4 separate regions of the Homo sapiens genome follow, and regions 2, 3 and 4 are each linked to region 1. Evidence: promoter capture Hi-C in human tissues and cell types (Jung and others, 2019). All regions are on one chromosome and are shown on one strand. The core of a region is centred on a gene start or on the middle of the fragment in contact, and the rest is flanking DNA. Distances in the headings are between cores, read along the strand shown. Region 1 holds the start of TGM6 (transglutaminase 6). Region 2 overlaps TGM3 (transglutaminase 3). Region 3 has its middle 29 kb from the start of SNORD119. Region 4 has its middle 36 kb from the start of TGM6.

Evidence for each region. Contacts are between HindIII fragments. The study calls those that stand out against the background at their distance.
Region 2: a fragment that was not itself captured here is called in contact with the fragment with the promoter of TGM6 in region 1 in 2 of the 25 tissues and cell types used here (ovary and thymus).
Region 3: a contact is called between a fragment that was not itself captured here and the fragment with the promoter of TGM6 in region 1, in 1 of the 25 tissues and cell types used here (adrenal gland).
Region 4: a fragment that was not itself captured here is called in contact with the fragment with the promoter of TGM6 in region 1 in 4 of the 25 tissues and cell types used here (H1 embryonic stem cells, pancreas, spleen and 1 more).

What each region holds. Positions count from the first base shown.
Region 1 is chr20:2,379,627-2,382,653 of GRCh38, reverse strand. TGM6 (transglutaminase 6) reads right to left here and starts at 1,753. Exons shown (of 13, transcript NM_198994.3): 1 at 1,679-1,753. The coding sequence starts at 1,685. The HindIII fragment of the contact is 30,296 bases long and covers 1-3,027 here.
Region 2 is chr20:2,325,163-2,328,131 of GRCh38, reverse strand. It overlaps TGM3 (transglutaminase 3), which reads right to left. Exons shown (of 13, transcript NM_003245.4): 8 at 2,180-2,283; 9 at 1-12. Among named protein-coding and RNA genes, the nearest start is that of TGM3, 31 kb to the right of the region's middle. The HindIII fragment of the contact is 4,472 bases long and covers 1-2,969 here.
Region 3 is chr20:2,432,923-2,435,677 of GRCh38, reverse strand. No RefSeq gene overlaps it. Among named protein-coding and RNA genes, the nearest start is that of SNORD119, 29 kb to the left of the region's middle. The HindIII fragment of the contact is 3,952 bases long and covers 1-2,755 here.
Region 4 is chr20:2,343,166-2,345,988 of GRCh38, reverse strand. No RefSeq gene overlaps it. Among named protein-coding and RNA genes, the nearest start is that of TGM6, 36 kb to the left of the region's middle. The HindIII fragment of the contact is 8,143 bases long and covers 1-2,823 here.

The DNA.
Region 1 (3,027 bases), core at 504-3,003:
GCCAAGAGGACCCAGAAGACCCAGGAATTGAATCCAATCCAACACATAGTCCATTTACATAGGCATGACAACTCCAATGCTGACATTTCACAGACGGAGAAACAGAGCTTCAGAGAGAGGAACCCAGCAAGTTAGTTACAGACCTGACAATGGGCATCATCATCAACTTTTTTCCTTCCTCAGAAACTAACCTTCGCACTGTCAAGTTTAAGTCTGATAGGTTATCAAAGGCCCAGGGAAGAGGGATCATCTAGGTGAACTTTGAGAAGCAGATCTTGGAGGAACAAAGGCAATCCCCTCTGCACCAGGGCCATCAGGGAGGCAACCCCAGCTCTGGAAACAGGCAGTCTGGGCTGTGAGCTGGTGTTGGCAAGGCCTGGTCTTCAGAACAGACCTATCCTAGGAGCCTGAAGGGCCCAACACGTCCAGCAATGCTGTTAACTGCCAGGAGGAAATATGAAGAGGAAGCTAGACTATGATGAGGAAATTCAAATATCTGCCTTTGAAAGTTAAAAAAATATTTGATTCATAAAACTGTCACATAATGCTGAACAATTAAAACTGGCAGACACAGACTCAGAAACACCCCTTGAATACCTGTGAGTGTAGGACCCCTGGTTCTGCTGACTTGCTCATTACCGGGCCCCAGCATCTAAGACAAGTTCTTGCAGAGGGAGTTTGCTGCTCACTATATTGAGGTCGTGGGGGACACATTATCTTACTTTCTTTTTTTTTTGAGACAGGGTCTCACTCTGTTGCCCAGCCTGCAGTGCAGTGGCACCATCTTGGCTCACTGTAGCCTCTACCTCCTAAGCTCAAGCGATCCTCTCACCTCAGCCTCCCAAGTAGCTGGGACTTTGGGTGTTCCCCACCATGCCTAGCTAATTGTTGTATTTTTTTGTAGAGACGGGGTTTTGCCACATTGCCCAGGCTGGTCTCAAACTCCTGAGCTCAAGAATTCCACCCCCTTCAGCCTCCCAAAATGCTGGGATTAGAGGCGTGAGCCACTGTGCCCGACCCACATTTTCTGAGTCTACTGTTTACAAGTCCCCACTTGAGATGTGTGGTGGGAGAACAGCACACGTGGTCTCACCAACTCCTCACAGCAAGGCTGTGAGATAATTTGCATTATAATCCCCATTACACAGATCAGAAAACAGAGGTACCAAGGGCAAATTTTCTTGCTCAAGGTCATATAGCTGTTTTCACTTGAGCCAGAGCTGCTCTTGCCCTCAAGTGCTTGGGGTGGGAATCAGGCGAGGATGCAGCCGGTGGGGGCCTCTCACTCCTTCCCACGCAGGCCACAATTCCCAACTATGCCCAGAAACGTCTCTGGATCCATGGAATGTGCATGGGGTGCAAGGAGATTTTCTTTTTTCTGCCCCTGCCTTCCTGTGCCTGCCTCCTTCAGTCCTCCGAGGCACAGGGGTGAGACCTGGCCCCAGCCCAGGAGACAGCGCCTGAGCCAGCCTGGGCCATGGCCTTGCTGGGTGGCTTAAAGCTGGCTTTTTCATCCTGGGCCTCATGAATCCACACGAAGAGTTCATGTGTTCATGGTGGACTATCCAGCTGTAAAATCCTAACAATCGATGATCAAACGTCATCCCACAGACCCGTGTTTCTTGAAGCCCCCCTCATGAGCCCTGGTGTCCCAAGGCCCCAGGCTCTGCCCACTTACCTGCCATGTGAAGGCCAGCTGGACTCCTCTGTTCCTCCACACAGCAGTGTGTGCACCGTCAGGACAGTGTGGCGCGTCACAGCAGCCAGCCAGACCAATTTTAACAAGGAAAACCTTGGGACACTCCTAGGCAGGAAAGTCAGAATTCAAAAGAGGAGGCGTGGCCCTCCACCCTAGCAGCGACACCCACGAGACACAAAATCATCCTGTAATTGCACCTAGAGGGGTTCACTGTGGGAGTGGCTCCTGCCAAGAGACCTTGGAAACACGGAGTTGCGAATGGGACTGTGGAGAAACTGAGGCTCAGAAAGGTCACAAGCCTGGCAAGAAAAAGAACGGGGAAAGAGAGAAGACTGAGGGAACTCGGATTTATGGTTGGCCATTCTTAGCCCTCACAACAACCCTCAAATGAGAAAAAACAGGCTCAGCGCCAGGACCCCGAAGTACATGGTTGCACGCTGCAGTGCCGGGTCAGTCTGTGGCTCCCTCTCCCCTCCTGGGTGAGAGCAGAAGACTCCTGGGCCCACAGCTCCACTCTGTTCTGCAGGCATCTAAAGAGGCAGAGGTCCATGATCCTCCTTCAGGGCCACTAGACTTCCTTGGTGGACACTAGACTCTTGAGAGGAGGTAGATAAGAAAAAGGGGAGAGCTGGTTCTGACTCAGAAGCTAGGCCCATCTGCCCTGACTTTGTGAGTGGCCTCCAGCCAGGAGCTTAGAGGCCTGGTGGCCATGGGTGTCCCGTGACCTTGGACAAGACCTCTCCCCTCCTGGAACCCTGGTGTTTCTACCTACAAACTAAAGGGATTGGACTCAATTATTCTTCAGGGCCATTCCAGCTCAAAGTCTAAGATTCTGGGCTTGAAGGTGCTGGAATTCAAGGCATCTGAGGTCTTTTGTTAATGAAATAGAGGGGATTTTATTTTCATGGAAGCCGGTGGGGTAGGTTTCTTTTTGCCGGAGAAATGCTTTGATGGATGACTTGGGGCTATCGAAGGCTGGATGTGGCCTGGGCCAGTGAGGAAGGGGAAGTGGGAGGGGGTAGAATCGAGGGAAAGAGACAAGGAAGGGTAAGGAGACAACCGTGTGCTGAGCACAGTAGGATGAGGCCGCTCCCTGGGATCACCCCAACATTCAGGAAACTGCATAAAAACCCCAAAGTGTTTGATGTGGTTGGATTTCTTACAGAAAGTGGCAAAGAGGCTGAGTTCTGCTTCCTGGTTTCACGCAGATCAAGCGTCTTTAATGAGCTGTCTGCAGACCCACATAGCCTTATAATTACTGACATCTGGCAGCAGCCCAGGGCAGCTCCTTCCTCAACACCCTGCAGGCTGCTGCCCTGTAGACCCTG
Region 2 (2,969 bases), core at 168-2,667, 54 kb after region 1:
ACTGGAACACCCCTGGAGGCCAAGATGCAGAGGCTGGATATATGCCAAGGCCACAACCTACCCAGTGCCCGATTCCCCAGGGCCTTCCAGGACCACTGCAACCCCCTGCCTCTGCCCCGCCCAAATTCCTTCACCCCTGACTGTGTGTCCCACTCATTTGGCATTCTGCAGAGACCCTCCCGGGCTATGATTCTCTTGCTGGTCGAACTCAACCTCTACATAAGACTACACAATTCCGCATTCCGGGCGCCTAATCCATGCTGACCCACTGTCCTTGGTCTGTTTCCTAAAGAGGAAAGTCTTGCTTTCTCGTGCTCAGGGTGGCTGCCTCTTTTCTACCTCTGCAAGTCATTCTGGCCTAGAAGCTCATCACCTTCCTAGTCCAGGAAGACTTCCCTGAACAGGCAGCCTGCAGGGACCTCTTGTTCCTCTGAGCTCCCAAGCCTGACCATTTCTTCCCTCTTCTTAGCACTCAGCATAGGAAGCTTAGATAGATAGATAGATAGATGTCAGTGACTTTCAGCTTTTTTCACCACAACCCCTAGAAAGAAATACATTTGACATCTTGGCACACATATGATACAGAAACAAAAGTTTCACAGGACAATGGTCTTTAGTCTAACTATATCTTTTTTGTTTGTTTGTTTGTTTTTTTGAGATGCAGTCGTGCTCTGTCGCCCAGTCTGGAGTGCAGTGGTGCAATCTCGACTCATTGCAAGCTCCGCCTCCCGGGTTCACGCCATTCTCCTGCCTCAGCCTCTCTCAGTAGCTGGGACTACAGGCGCCCGCCACCACGCCCGGCTAATTTTTTTTTTTTGTAATTTTAGTAGAGACGGGGTTTCACCATGTTAGCCAGGATGGTCTCGATCTCCTGACCTCGTGATCCACCCACCTCGGCCTCCCAAAGTGCTGGGATTACAGGCGTGAGCCACTGCGCCCAGCCTAGTCTAACTATATCTAATGAGCCTTGATAGTTTATGTTCTTTTCCCTGCTTTCCGTTCCATTCCATTTCATTTTCTTTTCCTAAAATGATGGACACAGCCCACTAACTAGATTTTATAACCACTAATGGGTTGCAATGAAACTTTTGGAAAATTGTGGCCTAGCAAATGTCTCAGTTACCTCCAAGCCCCCAAATCTAGTAACGTGCACTGATTCTGGTAGAGGAGCTAGGGGTTGGGGGTGTGGTAAGACTTAAGTTTTATTGTTAGTCCTTTTAGAATAGTTTGAATTTTTTTCAACTACATGCACATATTACTTCATATATCACATTTTTTTTTTTTAGACGGAGTCTTGCTCTGTCTCCCAGGCCGGAGTGCCACGGCATGATCTCGGCTCACGGCTTTACCTCCGTTTCCTGAGTTCCAGCGATTCTCCCACCTCAGCCTCCCAAGTAGCTGGGATTAAGGCATGTACTATCATGCCCGACTAATTTTGTATTTTTACTAGAGACGGGGTTTCACCATGTTGGTCAGGCTGGTCTTGAACTCCTGATCTCAACAGATCCACCCTCCTTGGCCTCCCAAAGTGCTGAGATTACAGGTGTGAGCCACCACTCCCAGCCCCATAAATCACTTTTTAATGTTTCAAAGAACAACTGAAAATGAGGGTAACAGACAAGTCATGCTCTAGAGGTCAGAGAAGGGAAGAGGAAAGGCTCCAGGAGAGCCTGGGACCCAACCCCTGATGGGGCAGGAGACAGAGGGAGGCCAGAGGAGGAAGCAGAGGCCCGGGATAGGGATGGCAGAGGCAGCCTGCCTAAGGGGGAGCTTGGTGTGGCAGAGAGAGCTGCTGTGGGTGGTGACCAGTGGAGAATGTGGACTAAACCCCAAGGGCAACAGGGAACCATGAATTTTCTGTGCTGGGAAGGAGAGGCTGCTGCAGTTGGTGAAGGAAAATCATTACTGGCAGAGGAAGGCTGCTCTCTCTGCCCACCTGGCCTGTGCCAAGGCTCTGTGCAGCAACAGTGGCCATTGTGGGTGCAGGGCAGGCACTCATTTAAACAGCAGCCCGAGCCAAGCAAAATTAGCAGGGGAGATCTATTTTTAAACTATTTTTGTTTTAATCCCATCATGCATTCCAGAGGGAGAGGGCTTTGGAGTTACTTCCCTATGCTGCTGTCCATGGCTGTAAATAACTGTGAGGCTCACGACTCAGAACCACACCCAGAGAAGTTACCTTGGCTTCTTTCCTGCGGGGTAGCATCCAACACCTGCCATCCACCGTACGAGGGGCCCAGGTCAGACCTCACAAACCAGCCTTCATTCCAGACATGGAAATTCCTGCAGATAGAACCAGAGACTGCAGCGCTTGCCCAAGACCACACAGCAGATGAGTGGCAAGACAGCACATCTTTGCCCCAACAGTGCAGCATGACAACATGCATCGAGTGAGTTTGCCCTGTGACGGCGGTTATGCTAAGCCCTGGTGAGCATCGTCTCGTGGAAATCCTCACAGCACTGTGCAATAGGTACCATTTTTATGCCCGTTTTATAAAAAGGGAAACTTGGGCTCAGAGAAGTTAAGCATCTAACAATGGCAGGGTCAAAATGTGGACCCATGTATGCCTAACTCAAAAGTCAAAGCCTTGACCAGCATGCACCTTTCTAAGGAGCAGAACGAATCCAGATTGGAGCCAGCCACCCAGGGGCAAACCCACACAGCTTTCTCCCTCTGCCTGGCGGGGTATGCTTCTGTGCTTGGTGTTGGCCGAAAATGAATGGGGTTGCTGCAGGAGTGGCTGACTTATCTAAGAGCCACACCGTCTCTTGGCTGGGATCTGAACTGAAGAATGACACCTGCCAGTCCTCAAATGTTCTTTGTCTTATGTCTCAATTAGTAAGCCTCAGTCACCACTCACCCCTCACCGGGCACAGCCAGGTAGCCAAGGTCTTACTCATTCTGTCCCCCAATTCTGCCCTCTTCTCTCCTCTCCACTCCCATGGAAACTACAGTCACACTGGTCTTG
Region 3 (2,755 bases), core at 166-2,665, 53 kb before region 1:
TACGGCAAGGTCAGTCAACTACAACCTGTGGGCCAAACTTGGCCTGCCACCTGTTTTTGTAAGTAAAACTTTATTGCAACACATCCAGGCTCATTTGTTTATGCACTAAGTATGGCAGTTTTCATGCTATAGCAGCAGAGTTGAGTAGTTGTAACAGAGACTCTATGGCCTGCAAAGCCTGAAATATTTACTATCTGGTCATTGGCAGAAAAGTTTGCCAACCTCTGTTCTAAAGGTTTGGAGGCCCCTCTGGTATGTGAAAGCTCAGATCCCTGACCTAACTTGGTGTCAAGGGCCTTCATGAAGTTTCAGATAGTGTTTAAGAGACAGGGGGACTCAATGGAAGCAGGAGTCCTGAGACTCAGTAAAGCCCTGTTGCTGGTGTCCTTCTGAGTGTCCCATGGCCAGCCAATTCTAAGGCTTTTCTCAGTCTTGAACTACCTGTTCTGCCCTTCCTGTGTTAAGCACATGGTCAGGGTCTTGCCCTACCAGCTGAAAGGAATTCCCTACCTGCACATTTTTCTTTGTAATTTCCAAAACCACATTCCCACTCACACTCTCCCTTGGACTTCTAAGCTGTCTTCTGTCAATTTCTCTACCTCTCCCACTCACAAGCAGGGCTTTCTCATTGGCTGTTGGGGCGGCTTCTGCTTTCCACTGGGGCTGGAATAACCAGGGAGGCCACTTTTGTCCCATTAAAATGCTACTCGAAGGCACCAAGGGCAAGAGCGTTGTACTGGAAACAGAGCTATGTGGCAGGTGGCCCTCACCACCTTCAGCTACATTCCCCTCCCTAAACACCTACAAGGGGACTTCAAAAGGTTCATGGAAAAGTAACATTAAAACATAAACATAAAAAGTAGAAACTTTATTTCTCAACATGAGCTCTGTCAAGTTCAAGATATTTTTGTAAATAATAATACCTGCCATTTAGTCTATTCCTAAGTAACTGAGGGTCCAGGGGATTTAACCATGTCAACACAGTCTTTTTTTTTTTTTTAACACAATTAACTGAAGAAAAACGGGCACCCTTTAAAGATTTTGTTTTTAAGATTAGGAAACAGGCTGGGCCCAGTGGCTCATGCCTGTAATCCCAACACTTTGGAAGGCTGAGGCAGGAGGATCGCTTGAGGTCAGGAGTTTGAGACGCACCTGACCAACATGGTGAAATCCCATCTCTACTAAAAATGCAAAAATTAGCCGGGCGTGGTGGCACACGCTTGTAATCCCAGCTACTCAGGAGGCTGAGGCGGGAGAATCGCTTGAACCCGGGAGGCAGAGGTTGAGGTGAGCTGAGATCGCGCCACTGCACTCCAGCCTGGGCGGCAGAGCAAGACTCTGTCTCAAAAAAAAAAAAAAAAAAAGAGATTAGGAAATAAAAAGAAGTCAGATGGAGCCAAATCAGGACAGTATGGTGGATGCTTAATGAATTCCAGTCAACCCTCTCACAAAATTGCCTTTGTTTGATGAGAGGAATGAGCAGGAACATTATTGTCGTGGAGAAGGACTCTCTGGTGAAGCTTTTCTGGGTTTTTTTCTGAAAGCTTCAGCTAACTTTATCAAAACACTCGTAATAAGCAGGTGTTGTTACTCTTTGGTTCTCCAGAAAACCGACAAGCAAAATGTCTTGAGCATCCCAAAAAACAGTTTCTACAAGCTTTGCACCTGACCGGTCCACTTTTTTTTTTTTTTTGAGACAGAGTCTTGCTCCGTTGCCCAGGCTGGAGTGCAGTGGTGCAATCTCGGTTCACTGCAACCTTCACCTCCTGGGTTCAAGTGATTCTCCTGCCTTAGTCTTCCGAGTAGCTGGGATTACAGGCACACACCACAACACCTGGCTAATGTTTGTATTTTTAGTAGAGATGGGGTTCACCTGGCCAGGCAGGTCTTGATCTCCTGACCTCAAGTGATCCGCCCACCTCGACCTCCCAAAGTGCTGGGATTACAGGTGTGAGCCACCGCGCCTGGCCGGCTGGTCCACTGTTGCTTTGACTGAACCATTTCCCCCTCTTGGTAGCCATTGCTTCGATTGTGCTTTGTCTTTAGGACTGTATTGGTAAAGCCATGTTCCATCCTGTTACAATTCTTTGAAGAAATGCTTCGGGATCTTGATCCCTTGTTTACAATTTCCACGGAAAGCTCTGCTCTTGTTTGCAGCTGATCTGGGGGCAACAGTTTTGGCACCCATTGAATGAAACATTTTCTCAACTTTAATTGTTCGGTCAGAATTGTGTAAGTTGAGCCCTGTGAGGTGTTTGCTGTTGTTTGTGCTGTTAGTCACTGGCCCTCTTCAGATTTGGGGCTGCAGATTTTAGAGGAATGCAATCCAGTTTGGGCCCTTCCTTTATCTTCTTAAGATTATCCTAGGCAGCAATCGCCCCTCAGATCCTGGGCCTGTGTCTTCACTGAGGGAAAATCTCCCTTTGCTTAAAATCTAATGCTTTTTAGGATCGGGACTTAGGAGGTATAAATGGCACACACATGGGCCTCCACTCTGCCTCTAGCTCACCCTGTGGCCTCTGTAAGTTTCCTTCTTCTCTGTAATGGGAGTGTTGAGGGATGGTTAGGTTCCAGCTCTGATACTTTTGGATTCTCTGTCAGGACTGTGGGGAGGATCCTTGGCTCTTGATGTGGCCAGGGCATTTGAAAAGCAAGGAGAGTCCAAGGGTCAGCCAGGGTGACAGCGAGGTGGCAGGGTGGAAGATGGCAGAGCTGAGTGGGCCAGGGTTTCTCTGATGCTCGGGTCTGTCAACCT
Region 4 (2,823 bases), core at 154-2,653, 36 kb after region 1:
TTCAATCAGTCACTTCATTCATTCATTCATTACCAATTTCATTTACTTTTTGGCTCTTTTATGAATTCTTATGGGTGCTTATCTACACCAGGTATTATGCTAAGTGTGGAGAATGTAGGGCTAAAGAAGACATGGTTTTTGCCCATGACAAGCACAAAGTCTAGGACAGGGGAGGAGAGACGTAGGCCAGACGACTTTAAGCCAAGTGGTCCAAAAAGACAATGAAGGGAAAGCATAGAGAGAAAAAAAGAGACCTCGTGTGTTTGGATGCAGTGATGTGGGAGGAAGATGGGGAAGGTTTTGCAGGAGAGGAAACATTTGAACTGAGCACTGGAGAGTGAATAAATATTTTCGTGGTGATAATTAATATAATACAACAATAAATAATATCCTATGCTGTATAACAAACCACATGAAAATGTGGTGACAAGACGACAACCAGTTCTATGGCCAGCAATTTGTGTTAGGCTCGGCTGGAGAGTTTTCTACTGAACTTCACTCCAAACTCAAATTTTAAAATAGATATAGGGATACTTTGGATATCTATTTCTTCCTCAATGGGTTTTGATAGTTTGTGTCTTTCAAGGAATTTGTTCATTTTATCTAAGTTGTCAACCTTTTTTTTTTTTTTTTTTTTTTTTTTGAGACAGGGTCTGGCTCTATTACCCAGGTTAGAGTGCAATGGCCCAATCTTGGCTCACTGCAACTTCTGCCTCCTGGGCTCAAACCATCCTCTCACCTCAGCCTTCTGAATAGCTGGGACTACAGGTGTGTGCCACCGTGCCTGGCTATTTTTTTTGATACAGACAAGGTCTTGCCATGTTGCCCAGGCTGGTCTTGAACTCCTGAGCTCAAGTGATCCTCCAGCCTTGGCCTCCCAAGACTACAGGCATGAGCCACCATGCCCAGCTAAGTTGTCAAGCTTTTTATGCATAAGTTTGTCCATAATATTTCTAAATTATTCTTCAAATAGCTATAGGGTCTCTTATTCCTGATATTAGTAATTTGTGTCTTTCTTATTTTTTGCTGATCAGTCTGGCTAGAGACTTATCAATGTTATTCATGTTCCGAAAGAACCCACTTTTAGTTACATTGAATTACTATTTTGTTTTTCTATTTTCTGTTTTATTGATTTATGCTGTTTGGTATTTCCTTTTCCATTTATTTTAGATTTTAGGTTTAATTTCTTCATTTCTTTCTTTTTTTATGAGACGGAGTTTTGCTCTTGTTGCCCAGGCTGGAGTGCAATGGCGCAATCTTTGCTCACCACAACCTCTGCCTCCCAGGTTCAAGAGATTCTCCTGCTTCAGCCTCCTGAGTAGCTGGTATTACAGGTGCCTGCCACCACGCCCAGCTAATTTTTTAGTTTTAATAGAGACGGGGTTTCTCCATGTTGCTCAGGCTGGTCTCGATCTCCCGACCTCAGGTAATCCATGGGCCTTGGCCTTTCAAAGTGCTGGGATTACAGGCGTGAGCCGCCGCGCCCGGCCTGGTTTAATTTCTTCACTTTTTGGCTGCCTAAGGTGGAAGGTGAGTTCATTGATTTTTTTCGTTTCTAATATAGACATTTTAGTGCTATAAATATTCCTCTGCTGCATCCTATGCATTTTTATATGCTGTGTTTTTAGTTTAAAATACTTTATAATTCTCTTTAAAAATTTCTCCTTTGACCCATAGGTTATTCAGAAGTCTTTTCTTTAGTTTCCAAATGTTTGGAGATTTCCAGATATATTTATGTTATTGTCATCTAATTTAATTTCTTTGCATTCAAAGAACATTGAGACTACTTATAATTTTTATTCTTGATGGATTGATTCTTTTATCATTCAAAAATATTCTTTTTCTTTAGTAACAATCTTTGGCTATTTTGTTTAATATTTGTATAGCCACTCCAGGTTTGTTATGGTTACTATTTGTATGGTATATAATTTGTATTCTTTTACATTTAACCAATTTCTATTCTATATTCAAATTTGATTTTTTGTAGCAGTATATAGTTGGGTCTTGCTTTTTTACCCAATCTGACAATAGCTGCCTTTTATTTGGGTGTTTGGGCCATTTACATTTAATGTGATTATTAGTATGGTTGGGTTTAATCTACCATATTGCTACTTATTTTTAAAATCTGTCTCAACTATTCTTTGTTCCCTTTTCTCCTTTTCTGCCTTCTTTTTCTATTAATTGAGTATTCTTTACTATTACATTGCGTTTACTTTGTTGGTTTGTTACTGATAACTGGGTTTTCTTGTTGTTTTCTTTTTTTTTTAGATGGAGTCTCACTCTGTTGTCCAGGATGGAGTGCAGTGGTGCGATCTCAGCTCACTGCAGCCTCCACCTCCCAGGGTCAAGAGATTTTCCTGCCTCAGCCTCCCAAGTAGTTGGGATTACAGGTATGCACCACCACACCCAGCTAATTTCTGTATTTTTAGTAGAGACGGGGTTTTGACATGTTGGCCAGGCTGGTCTCAAACTCCTGACCTCAGGTGACCTGCCTGCTTCAGACTCCTGAAGTTCTGGGATTACAGGCGTGAGCCACCATGGCCAGCTTGTTTTCTTTTCTTTTTCTTCTCTTTCTTTTTTGAAACAGGGTTTCACTCTGTCAACCAGGCTGAAGTGCAGTGGCACCATCTCGGCTCACTGCAACTTCTGCCTCTCAAGTTCAAGTAACTCCCCTGCCTCAGTCTCCTGAGTAGCTGGGACTACAGGCATGTGCCACCACGCCTGGATAATTTTTTTTTTTTTAAAGTAGAAATGGGGTTTCACCATATTGGCCAGGCTGGTCTTGAACTCTTGGCCTCAAGTGATCTACCCATCTTGGCCTCC